Linked DNA regions of Homo sapiens: region 1 is linked to region 2. The links are contacts of gene promoters, found by promoter capture Hi-C in human tissues and cell types (Jung and others, 2019). All regions are on one chromosome and are shown on one strand. Each heading gives the region's core, a stretch centred on a gene start or on the middle of the fragment in contact. The rest is flanking DNA. Distances are from core to core; before and after follow the strand shown. Region 1 overlaps SDK1 (sidekick cell adhesion molecule 1). Region 2 holds the start of NUDT1 (nudix hydrolase 1).

Region 1 (4,709 bases), core at 1,361-3,860, 1.2 Mb after region 2:
AAGTAAAGTTCAGGGACATATCCTACCAGACATTGTAAAGCTATAGGAATAAAATAGGGTAATACTGGTGTGTAAAAAACACATAGTTTTACAGTCTATTCATCGATCAGATACCTTAAACTACCTACCTACTAACAACAATTAAAAATATTAGAGGAGAGATGTAAAAAACTATTGAAAATGTATTTCTGACCAGGCAAGAGAAGACGGAATTGGCAGGGTGAAAAAGGGCAAGCCAGACTCTAGGGAGGGCAGCGAGCTCTTAGACTGCCTTCACCGTCTTTCTGAACTCAAGGGCCGGGAGTGTCTGCTTTGATGGCTGCATGGGACTCCGGAGATAGGCAATAAAGCCCATGGTTTCTACAAAGTGGGAAGCTCCAAGATTTATTGCTGAATAAATCTGGAACCCTAAAGTCCGTAATGTAAAAGGTGAATGAGAAAGAAATCTCTGCGCAGAAGAGAGAAGGAAACAAGCCTTAACTCACTGGAGTAGCAAGGAAAGCGCTTCTCTGAGAATTGATGACCACCAGAGGGCCTCCCACAGGTCTTCCCTGCACATTCCTGCTATCCTACTGGGGAGGTCCAAAACAACCTCCAGCAAACAATTCAACGTGGTCTTCAAGTAGTTGTGTACCCAGGCAACTGGCAAAAACAAATACAACTCCTCTCTGGAGGAAAGCAGCTTCCACCCAATATTCAAGGCATTACTGAAGGCAACAAAACAGGAAAACAGGTAAAGGATTCTCAGGCAACTCACAGGACATAAAATGTACATCTTGATTACGAAATAATCTGTGTAATAAGCTTAGAAAATTGCCTGACACGTAATAAGTGCTAAGTAAACGTTAGCTATGATGATGCTGGTGACAACAATGATGATTTCAAGTCTTTTTAATTCTCTCCTATTAATTGATTTCTCTTGCTTTGTTAAAATCACACCAGTTTAATTAACACTTGTCATATTGTAAACTTTTTAAAATGTTCAAATTTTTTCATTGTTCTTTTTAGAAGTTTTCTTACATATTTTATGTGAGTTTTAGGATTGGCTTGTCAAGTTCCTGAAAAATCATGTTTGAATTTTGATGAGGATAGGGGTTACCTTTATAGATTACTTTGTTAAAAACTGACATCTTTACAGTATTGAGTCCTAGCATTTCTGAATAGAGTATATCTTTTAGTTTATTCAGGCTTCTTTTATGTCCTTTAGTCAAGTTTTATAGTTGTCTTCATAAAGATCTTGCCACCTTTTTTTAGTTTTATACCCACTTTTCCATTTATGTTGCTCTTTCCTATTAAATGCTTAAATTGGCTATATTGAAGATGTAAGAAGGCTGTTGAGTTTTGTGTTCACCTTGTATGTTTTGCGCTTGCCAAAATCCCTTACTTTTTCTGATTGCCTCTGATTTTCTAGGTGAATAATCATATTGTTTGTAAATTGTGATAATCATTTCCTTGTGAATATTTCTGTCTCTAAATTTTTATCTTATTGCAATCCCTGCACCACTACAATGCGGGATTTTAACAAGTGGAACAGATATCCTTGTTTTCTTCTTCATTTTAATGGATGCTTCTAATATTTTACCATTAAATGTAATATTTTCTCTAAATTTTTGATATATACCTTTTATCAGAATTTGCTAAGCATTTTTGTTAGGAATGGGTGTTCAGTACTATTAGATGATATTTATTTCAGTCTCTGATAGTTACATGATGTTTCTCCTTTAATACATGACTATAGTAAATTCATTGGAACATTTCTTTTTTCTCCTCTTTATCATTAAAATGTTTATATATACGTTGGATAAGCTCTACATGGCCATAATACTTGTCTAACATTTTAAAATTTATTTTTAGTTTTTAACTAATACATAATAGTTGGACATATTTATGGGGTACATGTGATATTTTGATATACGCATATGATGTGTAATAAATCAGGGTAATTGGGATATCTGTCACCTCAAACATTTATCATTTCTGTGTGTTGGGGATACTCCAAATATTCTCTTGCAGCTATTTAAGAAATGCCTTACTTCAGTATATGTGAGGGGTTGATTCCAGGGTCCCCTGTATAACCAAAATCGAAGCATGCTCCAGTCCACAGGTGGCCCTGCCAAACCCACGGATACAAAATTTCACCTTCTGTATCCATGAATTCACATCCCTCCAATACTGTACAGTTTTGTAGGATTTGAACTGCATGGGTCCATGTATACACACATTTTTTTTCAACCAAACATAGATCGAAAATACATATTCACTGGATGCGAAACCTACATATATGGGGGCTGACTTGTTGAATATGAGGTTCCACAAGGCCGACTTCGGGACATGAGTGTGTGAGGATTTCGGTAAACATGAGGGTCCTGGAACTAGTTCCCCATGTAGACCGAGGAACGGCTATATTTTCAGTTTGGTTGGAAAAATATCCTTGTATAAGTGGATCCTGGCAGTTCAAACCAGAGTTGTTCAAGGATTAACTGTACAATAGTTAACTATGGTCTCCTGCCAGTGCTGTTGAACACTAGAACTTATTCCTTTCCTCTAACTGTGGTTTTGTATCCATAACCAACCTCGCCTCACACTTTCCTCTCCCCTGCCCTTCCTAGCCTCTGGGAAACACTGTTGCACTCACTACCTCCACAAGATCGGTTTTTTTTAGCTCCCACATAGGAGTGAGAACATGGGATATTTGTCTTTCTGGGCCTGACTTTCGCTTAATGTCCTCCAGTTATAAACGTGTTGCTGCAAATGACAGCATTTCATTTTTTCAGTGGCTGAATAGTATTCCTTTGTGGAAGCATAACATATTTTGTTTGTTCATTCATCTGTTGATGAGCATTTAGCTTGATTCCATATCTTGGCTATTGTGAATGGAGCTGTAGTAAACGTGGGACTGCAGGTCATCTGTTTGATAGACTAATTTCCTTTCTTTTGGGTATATACCCAGCAGCGGAATTGCTAGATCATATGGCAGTTCTATTTTCCATTTCTGGAGGACCCTCCATACTGTTTTCCATAATAGTTCTGCCAATTTACATTCTCACCAAGACCGTATGAACATTCTTTTTCTCTGCATCCTAGCCAGCATTTGTTATTTTCTGTCTTTTTGATAATAGCTATCATATCTGGGGTGAGATGAAATCTCACTGTGGTTTTGATTTGCGTTTCTTAATGACTAGTGATATTGAGCATTTTTTCCCTAGACGTGGTGGCCATTTGCAGGTCTTCTTTTGAGAAATGTCTCTTCAGATACTTTGCCCATTTAAAAATCAGATTATTTGCTTATTTGCGATTGAGTTGTTTGAGTTCAGTGCTGGGTTCCACCGTGGCAGGGCTAACACCTAGTTCCAATGCCAAGTCCCACACTCACTTTGCTTTCCCTACCCCAAGCATAGGTGTTTTCCCTCCAGGCTGTGCTGCCTGGGGATGAGGTACCAGGGTGTAGGTAATGTGAGACTGTCTTCCCTACCCCTTTAAATGCATCTTTTCTTGTTAAGCTAAAACCAGGTCCTGTCATCTCCCATCTGATTTTTAGCTGTTATGAAAATGCTTTCTTGTATGGATAGTTGTTCATTTTGATGTTTGTGCTGAGGGGATGATCTTTGGAGGGTTTTTTTTTTTTTTTTTTTTTTGAGCCATCTTGCTCCACCTTTCTCTCTGGTAATTTTTAAACTTTATTTAAAAATGTTCCATCTATATTCATAAGTGCTATTCCCACGTAAGTGTGTTTTCTTATTATATTTATGAATCCAACTATGGTGGCTTTCTAAAACATCTTAGGTTTTTAAAAAATCTTATTCTTTGTCCCGTTAGGACAGTTTATATAATATTGGTTTTATCTATTTTTTGAAGATTTGAAAAACTCTTCATTAAAACCATCTATGCCTAGTGCTTTTAGGACACTATTAGGACAGTTTATATAATATTGGACAGTTTATATAATATTGGTTTTATCTATTTTTTGAAGATCTGAAAAACTCTTCATTAAAATCATCTATGCTTAGTGCTTTTTTCCCCCCTGAGTTAAATTATTACCTGTAATTTTGATTTCTTCTATGGTTATTTGGTCTTTTGTTTTCTTTTTTCTTATGAAAATTTTAGAACATTCTTCTAGTATCTGTTTTGCTTAGCTTTTAATGTTAATTAAAATTATATGGAGTTAAATTTTAAATCTTTAATATCTGAGGTTGTTTTCTTTTCCATTTCTATTGTACTTTATTTGGATCTTCTTTCTTTTTTCTTAGTTAGACTTGGCAAAACTTAGCCAGTTTTATGGGTCATTTCAAAGAACCTGGGTTTCAAATGTGCTGGTATTTTTGTTTGGTTTTCTAATTCATTTCTTTTTTTATGTCTAATAATTTATTCTACTTTCCTGTTTGGTTTTGTTTTTACCCCCCTAATTTTGTAAGTTATAAACTAAGTTTACTTATTTTCAATCTCTTGTGTTTTCTGGTAAATGCATTTTATGCTATGATTTTTTCTGACCCTGCTGTGGCTGTTTCCCAGTCTTTATTTTGTGCGCTTTATTTGTTATGTATGTATGATGAAAATGGAAATTTTTCTTCAGTTTTTTTTTCTTCATCCCAAAGCACAAGTAAGGCGTTAAATTTCAATAGGTAGATAGATGTAGAGATAGTAGATTTTTAGCCACGTTTTAATTTTATCCTATTACATTTATTTTAAAAGATTTGGAAGACTTGTATTTT
Region 2 (4,468 bases), core at 170-2,669:
GCCCCAGCCTCCCAAGTAGCTGGGATTACAGGCACACCTGCTACCATGTCCGGCTAATGTTTGTATTTTCAGTATAGATGGGTTCCACCATGTTGGCCAGGCTGGTCTCAAACTCCTGACCTCCGCTGATCTGCCCGCCTTGGCCTCCCAAAGTGCTGGGATTACAGGTGTAAGCCACTGCACCCAGGCATTTCTTTCTTCTTTTTGTTTTTTTAGAGACAGGGTTTTACTATTACCCAGGCTGGAGTGCAGTGGCATGATCACAGCTGACTGCAGCCACAGCCTCTGGGGCTCAAGTGAACCTCCCACCTCAGCCTCCTGAGTAGCTGAGACTACAGGTGTGTGCCACCACTTCCGGCTAATTTTTCTATTTTCAGTAGAGATGGGATTTCACCATGTTGGCCGAGCTGGTCTCGAACTCCTGACCTCTGGCGATCAGCCCACCTTGGCCTCCCAAAGTGCTGGGATTACAGGCGTGAACCACCTCACCCGGCCATTTTTGTTTTGCTATCATCCAGGCTGGAGTTGCAGTGGCACAATCACAGCTGATTGCTGCCATAACCTCTGGGTCTCAAGTGAACCTCCCACCTCAGCCTCCTGAGTAGCTGGGACTACAGGTGTGCACCACCATGCCTGGGCTAATTTTTTTTTTTTTTTTAATTCTTAAAAACCTTTTTTAGAGATGGCATCTCACTACATTGCCTAGGCTGGTCTCGAACTCCTAGGCTCAAACGATCCTCCTGCCTCAGACTTCCAAAGTGCTGGGATGACAGGTGTGGGCCACCAAGCCCGGTCTCTATGTCCATCTTTCTGATTTAAATAAATAAATAAAAGTTACCACCCTCATGGCTCCAAGGCCAAAGCTTCTAGCTTCTGCAACACCAAAGCGTGCTGACAAGCCAGGAGGCACTGACTGCTGACCGTGAGTCGCTGTCTTCCCCTCGCTTAAGGGGTCTCCCGGGAAAATGGCACAAGCCGGTCCCGGGGGCCAGGGCCCACTCGACAGCCCAGGAAGCGCGGGCAATGGAGCTACCCGGCCCAGAAGCGAAATCCCGCCCCGGGCTCGCCCCCGGCGCCTTGGATCTGGGCCCCGGCGCTGCGCCCCCCACCTGGACTCCGCCGCCGGCCCCGGCCTCCCCACGGCCCCGCCGGCCCTGCCCCTGGAGACCTGAGGGCGCCCTCCTCCCGGGGAACTGCGACCCGGAATCCTGGCCTCGCCCCTGTCGCGCTCGCTGAGTGCGGGGACGGTGCCCAGCGCTCGGCACCCAGCCCCGAGGCCAGGACCGAGGAAGGCGACCGGGCGGACCCCCAACCACTCCCGCTGTCTGCACGCGCAGCAGCAGCGCCCAGCTCACCCCGCCATTGGTGTTCCCCGCGCCTGCAGCGCGCCGCCGGAAGTGCCTGGCCTCACTTCCGGTCAGAGGCCACGCCCCCGGAAGCGGCGGTGCAGGTACGAAAAGCGCGCGCGGGGATTCCAGGAGTCGTGGTGACCAGGGAGGGGAGCCGGGCCAGCGGGCGGCAGGAGACTAGGGGAGCTGAGCCATGGGCTTGGGGGAGAGCGGGGCCGGGAGCTCGAAGGAGACCAGAAGAGCAGGGTCGGGGGCTCGAGGGAGACGAGGAGAGCGGGGCCGGGGGTTTGGGAGAGAGACAAGGAGAGCGGGGCGGAGGCTTGGGGGAGACCAGGAGTAAATCACAAAAATTTACTTTGGAAACCGTGGCTTCTGGCAGAAACAGATCAGTGTCGGGACAAAGTACACGGGCCTGGTGTGAAACTAAGCCACAAACCCATTTACCCTGTCTGACCTGCCTCCGCCACCAGGACCCAGTCTCAGTGAAATGGGAAAGGTTCCCTTGTCCTCCTCGAAGGGCGTGCGATGAGGATGTGGCTCACTTCTTCAGTGCCCCGCTTCTCAAGCCTCTAGGGGAACATACAGACAGGCAGGCTGAGGGGCTCCCACCCCACGGCAGTGTCTAGGGGTGAATGTTTGCAGCTCCTGAAGCCCCAGCAGGCATGTGTTAGAGGGTGCTCTTTCAGTTTAGCCTTGTAGGTGGCTTGTGTTAGTCAGCTGTTAGACTCCCTGCCTTATCGCAAGGACAGAGGGCTTTCTGTATCCCTAGGTTTCTTGCCTTGATGTACTGGAGCAATCAGATCACACGGCGGCTTGGAGAGTGAGTGCAAGGTTTTATGAGTGGAATTAGCCCTCAGCAGATGGGGGAGCCAGAAGGCAGTTGGAGTGGGAAGGTGATTTTCCCCTGGAGTCGGGCTGCTGAGCAGCCTGGGCTCTCCTCTGACCGCCCCTGCCAAACTCATGGTTCCATCAGTTGATGGCCTGCTGGTGCCTGTTGGTGTGCTTTCCACGTCCTCTTGACGTCCAGCGGCTTGTGTCTCTGCCCACTATAAAAAACCACTGGGGTTTTTTTATAGGCACAGGACGGGGACGTGGCGGGCTCGGGAAATGCAACATTTGGGCAAAAAAACAGAAATGCCTGTCCTCACCCAGGTCCCTGGGCACAGGCCTGGGTGTGGAGCCCTGGCCAGAGACCACGCCCTCCTCTACCCAGCACTTCCCTGCCCCCTTCCTTATCATCTGGTCCCTTTTCTCAGACACCACAACTTCCAAGAAGGATCACTGGTCCTGAACCCTGTGTCTTGTCCAGGTGTGGACCCCAGAAAAGTTGGTCCTGGCTGGGCGCAGTGGCTCACGCCTGTAATCTCAGCACTTTGGGAGGCTGAGGTGGGTGGATCGCTTGAGCTCAGGAGTTCGTGACCAGCCTGGGCAACGTGACAAAACCCCATCTCTACTAAAAATACAGAAATTAGCTGGGTGTGGCGGCTCATGCCTGTGGTCCCAGCTATGTGGGATGCTGAGGCAGGAGGATGGCTTCAGCCAGGGAGGCGGAGGTTACAGTGAACCGCGATCACGCCACTCTCCTCCAGCCTGGGCAACAGAGCAGGATCTTGTCTCAAAATAAATAAAGGAAAGTTGGTCCTGGCCCTCCAGCATTTCTCCAGGGTCCTTTTTTCAGCAGGGACCTGGCGGAGGCATCGCCCTCAGAGTCCTCTGGACCTGGACCTGCACACCTATGGGAGCAGGAAGGACCCTTGTGACTTCCAGTGGCCCCCCTGGGTGCCAGGTCCCACAGTAGCCACAGCAGGAGCAGAGTGGGTGGGGTATAAACTCCTATCACAGGAGGGAGGACTAGCCGGGCCTGGCTGGGTGGACCTGTGTCTACAGCCACACATTTCCTGGGAATCTGGAAGCCTGCTACAGAGAGGCCAGGTCCCACTAGACTGAAAGAAGTTCCTGTTAATCCAAAGGCCTGACCTGAGGACCACAGGATAAACTGCGTGGTTATTTTGGTGCCAATCAGGCACGGGGACTGTTGTTCCTCACTGTGTGCCTATAAGCAGGGGGTTCCTGGGGGTAGACGCAGGAGCAAGAGCACGCTCTGGAAAGGTGATGTTGTCCTCTGCACCTGAGTACTGACTTGTGGAGAAGGAAGGTAGCGCCGGCCTCTGCTCTGCTTGATCAGCCCTGCTGACCACTGGGTTCTGTTTCTACCCCAGAAAATCACTGGTTCAATGGCAGTTTTCCACCTGCCACAAGGGAAGCCACACGTGGCAGGGCTGGGGAGTTACAGCATACCCCCCCGCCCCCCACTGCCTCCCAGAGCACGTCCCCTTCCTCCTGGCCCCTGGCACGTGCTTCCTCCACGCACGTCATGGCTGACTCTGCCCTCTCACCTTCCTTTCAGAACCCAGGGACCATGGGCGCCTCCAGGCTCTATACCCTGGTGCTGGTCCTGCAGCCTCAGCGAGTTCTCCTGGGCATGAAAAAGCGAGGCTTCGGGGCCGGCCGGTGGAATGGCTTTGGGGGCAAAGTGCAAGAAGGAGAGACCATCGAGGATGGGGCTAGGAGGTAAGGATGGGGCAGGTCTGGCCATAGAACCGGCTTTCCCAGGGCACAGGGATTCGGGCTGTAGGGCCACACCCTTGGTTTCACCACTAAGAGCTAAGTGACCTGGAGCAGGGGGTTAAGCGTGAGCCTCAGTGTCTTCATCTCAGAATGAAGAACAGTCCGCAGCCCTTCGGACTCTTGTGAAGATAAAATGAGGAAATGAACTCGAAGGACTTAGAACGGTGCGCGGTGTGCGGTGCGTGCTGAGTGCGTGTTAGCTGTTGTGGTGCGGTGGTGCTGGGGGCTGCAGGGCGTATCTGGAAGCCTCTGTGCAGCAGCTTGAATTGAACCCTCCCAGCACCCTCACTGTTGCCGAAGGGCTCGTCAGTCACTTGGTTCCTCTGTCTGTTCAGTGGAGCTGATGATCGCTTTCATCTCACACTCGCTGTGCACAAAGCCTCACTGCATCCTCAACACAGCCAGCTTCACCTAGGAAGGAACTGAAGCCCAGAGAGGTTGAGCCGTTTACCCAAGATCACACAGTCCTCCAGACGCCCCTCAACCCTCAC

Evidence for each region. The method cuts DNA at HindIII sites, captures the fragments that hold promoters and counts their contacts. A contact is called where the count stands out against the background at its distance.
Region 1: a fragment that was not itself captured here is called in contact with the fragment with the promoter of NUDT1 in region 2 in 1 of the 25 tissues and cell types used here (mesenchymal stem cells).

What each region holds. Positions count from the first base shown.
Region 1 is chr7:3,482,071-3,486,779 of GRCh38, forward strand. The region is part of intron 1 of SDK1 (sidekick cell adhesion molecule 1); the gene reads left to right. Among named protein-coding and RNA genes, the nearest start is that of SDK1-AS1, 130 kb to the left of the region's middle. The HindIII fragment of the contact is 8,636 bases long and covers 1-4,709 here.
Region 2 is chr7:2,240,807-2,245,274 of GRCh38, forward strand. NUDT1 (nudix hydrolase 1) reads left to right here and starts at 1,420. Exons shown (of 4, transcript NM_002452.4): 1 at 1,420-1,450; 2 at 3,757-3,920. The coding sequence starts at 3,769. It overlaps MRM2 (mitochondrial rRNA methyltransferase 2), which reads right to left and starts at 1,399. Exons shown (of 3, transcript NM_013393.3): 1 at 1,356-1,399. The coding sequence starts at 1,363. RefSeq lists an enhancer at 1-783 and a silencer at 1,106-1,325. The HindIII fragment of the contact is 10,120 bases long and covers 1-4,468 here.